2 separate regions of the Homo sapiens genome follow, and region 2 is linked to region 1. Evidence: promoter capture Hi-C in 16 types of primary human blood cells and fetal thymus (Javierre and others, 2016). All regions are on one chromosome and are shown on one strand. Each heading gives the region's core, a stretch centred on a gene start or on the middle of the fragment in contact. The rest is flanking DNA. Distances are from core to core; before and after follow the strand shown. Region 1 holds the start of USP14 (ubiquitin specific peptidase 14). Region 2 holds the start of ENOSF1 (enolase superfamily member 1).

What was found. Contacts are between HindIII fragments. The CHiCAGO score rates a contact against its expected background, and 5 or more counts as called.
Region 2: a fragment that was not itself captured here is called in contact with the fragment with the promoter of USP14 in region 1 in 1 of 17 cell types (monocytes); the score reaches 5.6 in monocytes.

What each region holds. Positions count from the first base shown.
Region 1 is chr18:154,532-160,425 of GRCh38, forward strand. USP14 (ubiquitin specific peptidase 14) reads left to right here and starts at 4,026. Exons shown (of 16, transcript NM_005151.4): 1 at 4,026-4,183. The coding sequence starts at 4,168. It overlaps LOC105371951 (a long non-coding RNA gene), which reads left to right. Exons shown (of 4, transcript XR_935081.2): 3 at 878-984; 4 at 3,612-3,638. RefSeq lists silencers at 3,698-3,967, 4,238-4,417. The HindIII fragment of the contact is 8,571 bases long and covers 3,002-5,894 here.
Region 2 is chr18:709,762-714,947 of GRCh38, forward strand. It overlaps ENOSF1 (enolase superfamily member 1), which reads right to left and starts at 2,869. Exons shown (of 16, transcript NM_017512.7): 1 at 2,743-2,869. The coding sequence starts at 2,826. RefSeq lists a silencer at 2,794-3,113 and an enhancer at 3,065-3,644. The HindIII fragment of the contact is 4,938 bases long and covers 1,057-5,186 here.

The DNA of each region.
Region 1 (5,894 bases), core at 2,776-5,275:
TGGATCGCCTGAGGTCAGGAGTTCGAGACCAGCCTGGCCAACATGGCAAAACCCTGTCTCTACTAAAAATACAAAAATTAGCTAGCGTGGTGGTGCGTGCCTGTAATCCCAGCTACTTGGGAGGCTGAGGCACAAGAATCGCTTGAACCCAGGAGGCGGAGGTTGCAGTGAGCTGAGATGGTGCCACTGCACTCCAGTCTAGGCAAAAAAGTGAGACTCTGTGTGAAAAAGAAAAGAAAAAAAGAATTCACCCTCAGAGCCTCTAGAAGGAATGCAGTCCTGCCAACACCTTAATGTTAAGACCAGTCTCAGACTTCTGACCACCAGAACTGTAAGATAATAATAAACTTACGTTGTTTTAAGCCACTAGGTTTGTGATAATTCATTACAGCACTCATAGGAAACTAAATCAGCCATAATAAAACATAATAGTATTTGACACAAAGGGGTGATTGTATAAGAAGGCTTTCAGTTTATGTGAAAAAGTTAGCATTAAATGGAGATTTTAAAGTTGGACAGGATTTCCCATGGCCAGATGAGGAAGGAGGGTACATTCTAAGCAATAAATTGTAGGTAATTCACCAAGTGAAAACATTTCTGATATTTGGCTATGTTTTATAGAACTTATTTATGTATAAACATGCAGGTTAAGATCTTACCAATTTATTCATTAAAGAAGTCACCCTTAAGAAGAAAATCCCATCCATTAAACACATGGAGGGCAGGGCTTAGCAATGTGTGTCATGGCGATGAGGTCGCTGTCATCTTTAACTCTGACGTTTAGGAAGGCCAGTTGTGCAAATTTCTTTTTATGCTTCCTTTCAGTTGCTAGCATGGTTCCACCTCCTCACTCTGCCCCCATTTGTCTTAAATTTAGGTCTGCGGATCTTCAGAGAGGCTGGAAGAAGCTAGTTGTACCAAAGGGACCAAAACTTGGTCTACAAGATTCCCTGGTCATCTACATGATGAATAAACTTCAAATAGGTAACTTTCACATCCAGTTCTCACAGCATCAAGTAATTCCTGAGTGCCTACGAGATAGCCACGATTCCTGTTTATAGTGTACTTGGGGGAATACAGACATTAAAAAAATAGAAGTGTGATGAGAGTTACTAAAGAAAAAGCTGGCCGGGCATGGTGGCTCACGCCTATAATCCCAGAAGTTTGGGAGGCCGTGGGCAGATAGCTTGAGGCCAGGAGTTTGAGACCAGCCTGGTCAACACAGCAGAAACCCCATCTCTACTGAAAACACAAAAATTAGTCAGGCGTGGTGGTACACACCTGTAATCCCTGCTCCTCAGGAGACTGAGGCATGACGATCACTTGAGCCTGGGAGGCGGAGGTTGCAGTGAGCCAAGATTGCATCACTACACTCCAGCATGGGCGACAGAGCAAGGCTCTCTCTCAAAAAGAAAAAGAAACAACAACAACAAAAAAGCGCAGGTTGCAATGTGAGTGTAGCAGACAGGATGATGATTTTTGCCTCTGAATCTCTCAATCTTTAGGCCTCCTTTACTATCAGCTTCAACAAAGGGCAGCACAGATTTTTCCACAGATGATCTATACATTTTTATTTGGTTTTGTTTTGTTTTTTTGAGACAGAGTCTTGCTTTGTCACCCAGGCTGGAGTGTAGTGGTGCAATCTTGGCTACTGGAACCTCTGCCTCCCAGGTTCAAGCTACCCTCCCATCTCAGCCTCCCGAGTAGCTGGGACTGCAGGAGTGCACCACCACACCTAGCTAAGTTTTAAATTTTTTGTAGAGATGGGGGTCTCACTTCATTGCCCAGGCTAGTCTGGAACTCCTGAGCTCAAGTGATCCACCTGCCTTGGCCTCCCAAAGTGCTGGGATGACAGACGTAAGCCATGGTGCCCGGGCAATCTATGCAATACATTTTTAAATATGTATGTTATAGAAATATGTTACTGAACATAAAAAAAATAGAAAATAAAGCTATCCATAGCCTGCTATTCTAACATACCCTGCAAAATCCCTTTGAAGTTTTACTGTGTAATATAAAATAGGTATCATAGCACATGTGCAATGCACTGTGCTAAGAATCTTCTATACATAATCTTATTTAGTCCTTATAACAATCCTGAGATGTATCTCCATTTTACATGCACAGCTTGAACACATTGCTAGTTTAGTTCCAGACCACTGCAATATTGCTGATATTGTAATAAAATGAGTCACACAAAGTTTTTGTTTTCCCAGTGCATATAAAAGTTATGTTTCTACTATACTGTAGTCTATTTAGTGTCAAGGCTGGGTGCAGTGGCTTATGCCTGTAATCCCAGCACTTTGGGAGGCCTAGGTGGGCAGATTGCTTGAGACCAGGAGTTCAACACCAGCCAGGGCAACATGGCGAAATCCCGTCTTTACAAAACATACAAAAAAAATTAGCCGTGTGTGGTCCCAGTTACTCAGGAGGCTGAGGTGAGAGGATAGCTTGAGCTGGGAGGTTGAGGCTGCAGTGAGCCGTAATTGCGTCACTGCACTCCAGCCTGGGTGACAGAGTGAGACCCTGTCTCAAAACAAACAAACAAAACTTTACTGCTAAAAAATGCTAAGGATCATCTGAGCTATCAGTGAATCATCATCTTTTTGCTGGCAGAGGGCTTGCCTTAATGTTGATGGCTGCTGACTGATCAGAGCGGTGGATGCTAAAGTTTGGGGTAGCTGTGGCAATTTCTTAAAATAAGACAATAATGAAATCTGCCACGTCGATTGACTCTTCCTTTCATGAAAGTTTTCCCTGTGACATGCAGTGCTGTTCAGCATTTTACCCACAGAAGAACTTTCAAATTTGAATTTCTTTCAAAATTAGAGTCAATCCTGTCAAATTCTGCTGCTGTTTTATCAACAGTTCCATAGTTTATGATATTCTAAATCCTTTGTTGTCATTCAACAGTGTTCACAGCGTCTTCACCAGGAGTAGTTTCCATCTCAAGAAACCACTTTCTTTGCTTATCCATAAGAAGCGACTCCTTGCCCATTAAAGCTTTGTCTTGAGATTGCAGCAATTCAGTCACATCTGTGGGCTCCACTTCTAATTCTAGTTCTCTTGCTATTGCCACCACACCTGCAGTTGTGTCCTGAACTCAAGCCTTGAACCCTTGTGGGAAAAGACTTGTTGCCAGAGCAGTCAGAATACACAAAACATTGGAGTTAGCTGTTTTACACGGGGGTGGTTAGTGGCACCCCAAAACAACTAAAATAGTAATCATAGATCACTGGAACAGATATAATAGTATTTAAAAAGTTCAAAATATTGTGAGAATTACCAAAATGTGACACAGAGACACGAAGTGAGCACATGCTGTTAGAAAAACAGAACTGATGGACTTACTAACCCAGGGTTGCCACAAACCTTCAATTTATATATATATATATATAAATATATATAAATATATAAATATATATAAATATATAAAAATATATAAATATATAAAAATATATAAATATATATATATAGAACGCAATAAAATGAGGTGTGGGTGAAAAGAAAACTGAGGTTTGCAGACATCATACAGCTAGCTAGTAACAGCTGGGTTTCAAAACACCTCTGACTTTACAACCACTAATTTTATTTATTTTATTTTGAGGCAGGGTCTCGCTCTGTCGCCCAGGCTGGAGTGCGGTGGCACGATCACAGCTCACTGCAGCCTCGACCTCCTGGGCTCAAGCGATTCTCCCGCCTCAGCCTCAGACAGCAGGTGGGATACCAAGTTCCCACTTCATCTGCCGCAGGGCTGGGCCGCGCCAGGACCACGTGGCCAGTGCGCGCAGGGCGATGGGCGGCAGTGCGCAGGCGCGCACCTGCTGCGGTGGATGGGGCCCCGCGCCCGTCCCTCACTTGCTCCCTCCTTCCTTCCCGCCACCCCTCCACCGCCTTCCCCCTCCTCCCTCCTCTCGCCACCTCTAGGCCCCGCCCCGGTCCTGCCGCCCAGTCTCCTCGCTGCAGTCGCTCCGGAGCTGCACGGGTGTTTTGCGTGTTGCTGCGTCATCGCCAGTGGCCGGTTTGAATGAGACTCGTCGCACCGAAGCCGCCGCCACCACCGCGCCTCCGCCTCGGCCGCCGCCGCAGCTGCTCCTGGTCCCCGTCCCTTTGCCGCCCTCGTCAGGCCCAGCTCTCCTGCGCCGCCGCCTCCCGCCGCGCCCCGCCATGCCGCTCTACTCCGGTGAGCCCTGTCCTGGCCTCGCGCGCAGCACACCGGACCGGCGCTAGGCCTCCGCGTAGGCCTGGCCTGCACGGGCGGGCACCCGGCATGGACTGGGAGGGGCCGGGGTGGGGTGCGCGGGGCCGGCGGCGCGGAGATGACCCAGGCACCGTCCCCTCTCCCGGCTGGGTCGGAGCCCTGCGTGGCAGGGGAGCGCCGTCCCCCTGAGCCACCGATGGGTGGGGGGAGTGGAGATGGGGAAGCCTCTCAAAGTCGTGACTCTGCAGAATAGTTTCTGACGCTGCCCTGGTGTGCGGTGAAAGTGAGGGTGTGTCCTGGGGCGCTGGGCCAGGCTGGAGGTGCAGGGAGATTCCTTTGGGCTTCTCAGTGGTCGCCGTGGAAGGGAGCGGGGAAGAAGGGGAGGGATGGAGCGACCCTTCTTGGGGTTGCCAAGCGGCGTTCGCCGCCCTTCGTCGTCCTTCGCCCTTCTCTTGCCCCTTGCCTTTGTTCGACCGCCCCTTTGGTACCAGTTTTAGTTTTGTCCCGAGGCAGATTGTAAACCTTTTTGCTTCGTTTTCGTTTCATCAAACGTTGCATTGGATTTCTGTATCCGAAACGTGGTGTGAGCTTTCAGAAGTAGATGAATACACATATCCCCGGGGTGTCATTTCTTGATTGGCGTTTGACAGGGGCTTGTATTGTTTGCTTGCTGACAGTCCAGGGTACTGGCCAGGGATCACTTTTACTTAGGGAATGGACCTTGCTGCTCCCTAGCCTTATTCAAAATGGCACCTAAAATATGTGTGGTGTCTCCAATTGGCTGTAGGTGTGTGATTCGTTGACCATCCCTGTTTATTCTGTTACAGTTCCTTTATTGAAGATTCAGCATTTACAAAGCATGATACGAATCAAGAGTATTGTTTGATCTCAAGGTGGATTCTTGATGGTCTAGAATCTTGAATCGAATTCTTAATGATTGCCCAACCCCTTTCTAAAGCCATAACAACAGTAGAATGGCTCTTGAAATATTCTAATACTTAAACACACCAGTAGATTCACACACATAAAACAAAACCCCTCTGTTTCCTCAAAATGCCAGCGCTGACCAGAGTTTCTTTTTTAAAATTTGAGCTTTATCTTAAATATTTAATCAGATCTTTTCCTCATCCCCCAAATGAAGGAACTCAAGTAGATTTCTAAGGTCCCTTCCTTTGACCTCTCCATATTGAGAATCTGTATTTTGAGGGTCAGCAAAAAGCTCTATATTAAAATGAAGAGAACATTTTAAGTACTATTTCATAAGATTTAGTAGAAAATTAAGTATCTAGTCTGAGCGCGGTGGCTCACGCCTGTAATCCCAGCTCTTTGGGAGGCTCGAGGCGGGCGGATCACTTGAGGTCAGGAGTTCGAGACCGCCTGGCCAACATGTTGAAACCCTGTCTCTACTAAAAATACAAAAAATCAGTCGAGAGTGGTGGCAGGTGCCGGTAATCCCAGCTACTGGGGAGGCTGAGGCAGGAGAATCGCTTGAACCTGTGAAGCGGAGGTTGTAGTGAGCCAAGATCGCGCCATTGCACTTCAGTCTGGGTGAAAAAAGCGAAACTGGGTCTCAAGAAAAGAAAAAAAGAAAATTACATATCTAGATTATTAAATGGTTAAGGATAAGTGCAGTTAAAAATTAAAGCCAGGGGCCATGATGTATGCTTTTAATCCCAGCTACTCGGGAAGCTGA
Region 2 (5,186 bases), core at 2,276-4,775, 550 kb after region 1:
TCTGTCTAAAAAAAAAAAGCAGGAGTCTTTAGCAGATTTTGAGGACAGCTTTATTGCTCTTTCTTGAAAATATCCTACTTCTGATCAGGGAGGCTCACTTTGCTAAGTGCTGATGGTCCAGCATGCCTCGAGGGCATGTGAAGCCATCTCCATGGTGAACTGCAAAACAGCTCATTCTAATAAGAAGGCACTTGAGAGCTGGCACACAACATACACCCTATCTCCCCAAGATAAAATGCTTAAGTATTTATGAGCTTGCAATACAGGTGTTAGATAATGTCTCCTTACCCTGTGTTAGACATCACTCAGGCCCAGAGGCAAATTCCATTTCTTGAATTATTCTACAGTAAACCAGGCTGTCTTTTGAGACAGGGTCTCTCTCTCTCACCCAGGCTGGAGTGCAGTGACACAATTACAGCTCACTGCAGCCTCGACCTCCTGGACTCAAGAGATCCTCCCACCTCAGCCTCCTGAGTGGCTGGGACCACAGGTGCATGCAACTACGCCCAGCTAATTTTTGTATTTTTTTGTTGAGACGAGGTCTCACTATGTTGCTCAGGCTGGTCTCGAACTCCTGGGCTCAAGCGATCCACCTGCCTTGGCCTTCCAAAGTGCTGGGATTATAGGCTTGAACCACCACGCTCAGCCAAACCAGGCTGTCTTAACATTTCACAAATTCAAAGTCAAGTCTAGATTAGGGATTCCTTCTGCTTCAGTTTCCTCAGAGTGAATAGTAATTACAGCCACCCCTCCTTTTTTCTTTAGAAACAGGGTCTCACTGTGTCATCCAGTGCCCAGGCTGGAATGCAGTGGCATGATCATAGCTCATGTAATTGAATTCCTGGGCTCAAGTGATCCCCCTGCCTAGGCCTCCACTTAGGATTAGAGGTGTGAGCCCTCATGCCTGGCCTATAGCCAACTTTACTGACGGCCTTCTCTGAGCCAGGCTCTTTACAGGTATCTCATTTACATGTATAAAGTGAATATTATTATACCCATTTTACAGATGAGAAACCTAGGCTTAGAAAGATTGTGTGACTTAGCCACAGCTGCTAAAGCTTCACAGAGGCAAAGGCAGTTGCATGAGATCGAGTGTTTGGATTCTATAAGCCAGTAAAATTTCCAACATTTATTTTGAGTTCCATAAAGGATTGCCTGCTGGGTGTTTAAGTTATTTACCAACATCATGTAAGAAAGGAAACATGAAGATTTTAAAGAGGATGACAGCCTGGGCCCTGTCTCTACAAAAAATACAGAAAGTAGCTGGGCATCATGGTGCACACCTGTAGTCCCAGCTACTTGGGAGGCTGAGGTGGGAGGATTGGTTGAGTCAGGGAGGTCAAGGCTGCTGTGAGCCATGATAGTACCACTGCACTCCAGCTTGGGCAACAGATAAGAGACCCTGCCTCAAAATAAATAAATAAATAAATTTAAAACATAAAATAGAATAAAATAAAAATTTAAAAATGCAGGATGAACTTAATCTCAAAAAGGACATTGTTTTGCATTTAATAACTTTAACGAGAGATCTATTTTTATAAAACATTTCAGGTACAAAAAGAGTATAGATAATGTAATGGACACCAGCTTGCCATCCACCCAATTTAGGAAGTAAAACATTACAATGGGAATTAGAGACCTCGTGGTCCCCTCCGTGACCCCATTTCCTTCCCTCCCTACTGGTAACCATTTTCCTAACATTGCCGTTCCTCACTTCCCAGCATACTTTCACACATTCACTACATACCCATACAACTCTGCTTTTCTAGCGCGGCCAATCTCATCAGTGGACTACGAGGGGCAGTGAGGACCCAGTGGGGAACAGGCTCCCTGAAAACCCTGCACAGAACCCACTGTATTTGGGAAACACCGCTCTAGACGGGGGCAGGGGAGGGAAGGCCTGACATTCTAACACCCTCAGTAAGCAAAAAAGACCTTCAATATTTAGGTAGGAGTCAGAGTTCCTGCCCTTACTTTATTACATCTCTTAAGACGAACTGACATTTGCATCAGTCCTTTCTAAGCGTGTTTGCGGGTAATTTCACGAGAGCGCCCTCTCATGTGACGCAGTTAGCACGCGCTTGGTTTCTCAACCCGACTGTGACACCTTCATTACACAGACGGGTCCAAGAGACCCAGAGAGGTCTGGAACTTCTCCAAGTCACACAGCAAGTTGTGGAAGCGGGATCACCACTCAAAACTCCCAGCCCCGGGCTTCCCGTTCTCCCTCAGCGCCAACCCCGTCGCGTTCAGGGTACAGAGGAAGCCAGCGAGCGCTGTGCTCTAGGGTTTCCACTGGCGGGAACCCAACAAAATCATTTTGCTGCTATTGCCTATTATGCATTCTACCATTTCCAGCAAAATGTGAGTCGTAAAAGTAAAACCAGGATATTCTAAACTCCAGCAAAGAAAAAACCCAGGAGAGTGGAAAGTTTCTGGATACTTATACAATTGCTCCAAGGCATGAAAAGCGAGTGTCTCCCCCAGGCGCGCCTCCCACTTTACAGAAGCAATGGGTTCGAAGTCGGGAAGCTGCCCGGGGCCCGCAGAGCTGCAGTCGGCGGGGCGGGAGGGACCCGGGCCGCAAGCCGCGCGTACCATGGCGTCCGCGCTTACCATGGCGTCCGCGCTTACCATGGCGTCCGCGCTTACCATGGCGTCCGCGCTTACCATGGCGTCCGCGCTTACCATGGCGTCCGCGCTTACCATGGCGTCCGCGCTTACCATGGCGTCCGCGCTTACCATGGCGTCCGCGCCGTGGCCCCCAAGCGACGTGGGGAAGCGCACGTCCCGGACCGAGAGCCGGGAGATCCTGCCGCGCACCATGGCCCCTGCGCCCCGTGGCCGCGGCCCCCGTGCGGTCAGGACTGGTCGGGATCCCGAGCGCGCGGCGGGAGGGCGGGAGGGCGGGAGCGCGGCAGCGCCGCGAGGCGGGGCACCGTCAGGGCATAGAGGGCGCTCATTGGCCGCGCGGCCGCACCCCGTGAACTTGGCCCCATGGGAGCTGCAGTCCCAGCTCCGGGCTCCCGGGGGCGCACTCCGCCTTCCGCCGTTCCCTTCTCAGCCTAGACGGAGCTGACCCCGAGAGGGTTCGCTCAGGGTCGCCGGGGAACCTGGGCAGGCAGGAGGCCTCGCGCCCGGTCGGCGCCTCCGCGGGACCCTGCTCTGCTCGGATGGAAGACTCGTGAAGGGACCTGCCCGGGAGCCGCGCCCTAGAGGGAGAAGTCGGGTCTGAGCGAGTGCATTCGCTCAGCGGCAGATTCCGGCCAGTGGCTCAGCTCCCAAGCCGAGGCCGCTGGTTGTCGCCAGCGTACCCAGGAGAGCGGTGCCCTAGAAAATGCTAGGTCTCTTTCAGTGCCCACAGCCTCAGTTTGCCACCTGATAAATTAAGAGGCAGGTCATCATTGATTACACCCGTACTGATGCAGATGAGGTCCCCGTACCGTGCCTCAGCCTGTAATCCCAGCACTTCGGGAGGCCGAGGCGGGCGGATCACCTGAGGTCAGGCGTTTGAAATCAGCCTGGCCAATACGGCGAAATCCCGCCTCTACTAAAAACAAAAATTAGCAGGGCGTGGTGGTGCGCGCCCGTAGTCCCGGCTACTCGGGAGGCTGAGGCAGAACTGCCTGAACCCGGGAGGTGGAGCTTGCAGTGAACTGAGATCGCGCCACTGCACTGCAGCCCGGGCGACAGAGCAAGACTCCGACTCAAAAAAAAAAAAAAAAAAAAAAAGATGCTGGGCGGCTCACGCCTGTAATCCCAGCAGTTTGGGAGGCCAAGGCGGGCAGATGGCGAGTCAGGAGATCGAGACCATCCTGGCTAACACGGTGAAACCCCGTCTCTACTAAAAATACAAAAAATTAGCCGGGCGTGGTGGCGGGCGCCTGCAGTCCCAGCTACTCGGGAGGCTGAGGCAGGAGAATCGCTTCAACCCAGGAGGCGGAGGTTGCAGTGAGCCGAGATCGCACCACTGCACTCCAGCCTGGGCGACAGAGTGAGACTGTGTCTCAAAAATAAATAAATAAAAAGAAATAAAAAGAAAATCCAAAGTAAGCAGAAGAGAAGAAATAATAAAAATTAAAGCAGAAACCTGTGAAATTGAAAACAGGAAAGCAACAAAGAAAAATCAATGAAAACAAAAGCTGGTTCTTTGAAAACATTGATAAAATCAATAAGCCTCTAACCAGGCAAGAAAAGAGAACGCAAATAACTAATATCAAAAGTGAAATAAGGAACATTACTACAGATCCGACGGACATTAAAATGATAATAAAGGAATACTATGAATTCTATGTCCACAAATTTGATAACCTGGATGAAATAAACCAATTCCTTGAAAGACACAATCTGCCAAAACTCACACGAGAAGAAATGGACAATCTGAATAGGCCTATATCTATTAAATAACTTGAATAAATAATAGCCTTCCAAAAACAAAAAGCACCAGGTCCATGGTTTCACTGGTGAATTTTACACCAAACATTTAAGGAAGAAATTACAACAATTCTCTATAATCTATTTCAGAAGATAGAAACAGCCACAAACTGACTTTATGGTGAATGATTGATGCTTTCTCCTTAAGATTTGGAACAAGGAAAGGATGTCTGCTTCCACCACTTCTATTCAACATAGTACTGCAGGTTCTAGTTAGGGTAATATAATAAGAAAAGAAATAAAAGGCAGATTGAAAAGGAAGTAAACCTGTTTATTCTTGGATGACATGATTATTCATCTTTGTTGAAAACTGTCTTCATTGGACTTAACGAAAAAAGCTACTGGAACTAATATTGAGCTTAGCAAGTTTGTAGGATACAAGGTCAATTTAAAATCTATAGTTGATGTGCTAGTAATAAAAAATTGGAAACAAATTAGAAAACAGTATCTCTTAAAACAATTGCATTGAAGATATAAAACAGGACAAGTTTAACAAAAATATGCAAGATTTGCACACTGAACTATAAAACATTGCTGAGAAAAAAAGATCTAAAGAAATGTAGAAATGTAGAGAAATTCATATTCTTGGATTGGAAGACTCAATATTGTTAAAATAGCAGTTCTTCCCAAATCGAACTACAAATTCAATGCAATCTAATCTAAATCACTAGCAGGATTTTTTTGAAGAAATTGACAAGTTGATTCTAAAATTTATATGGAAATTTGAATAGCCAAAATAATCCTAAAAAAGA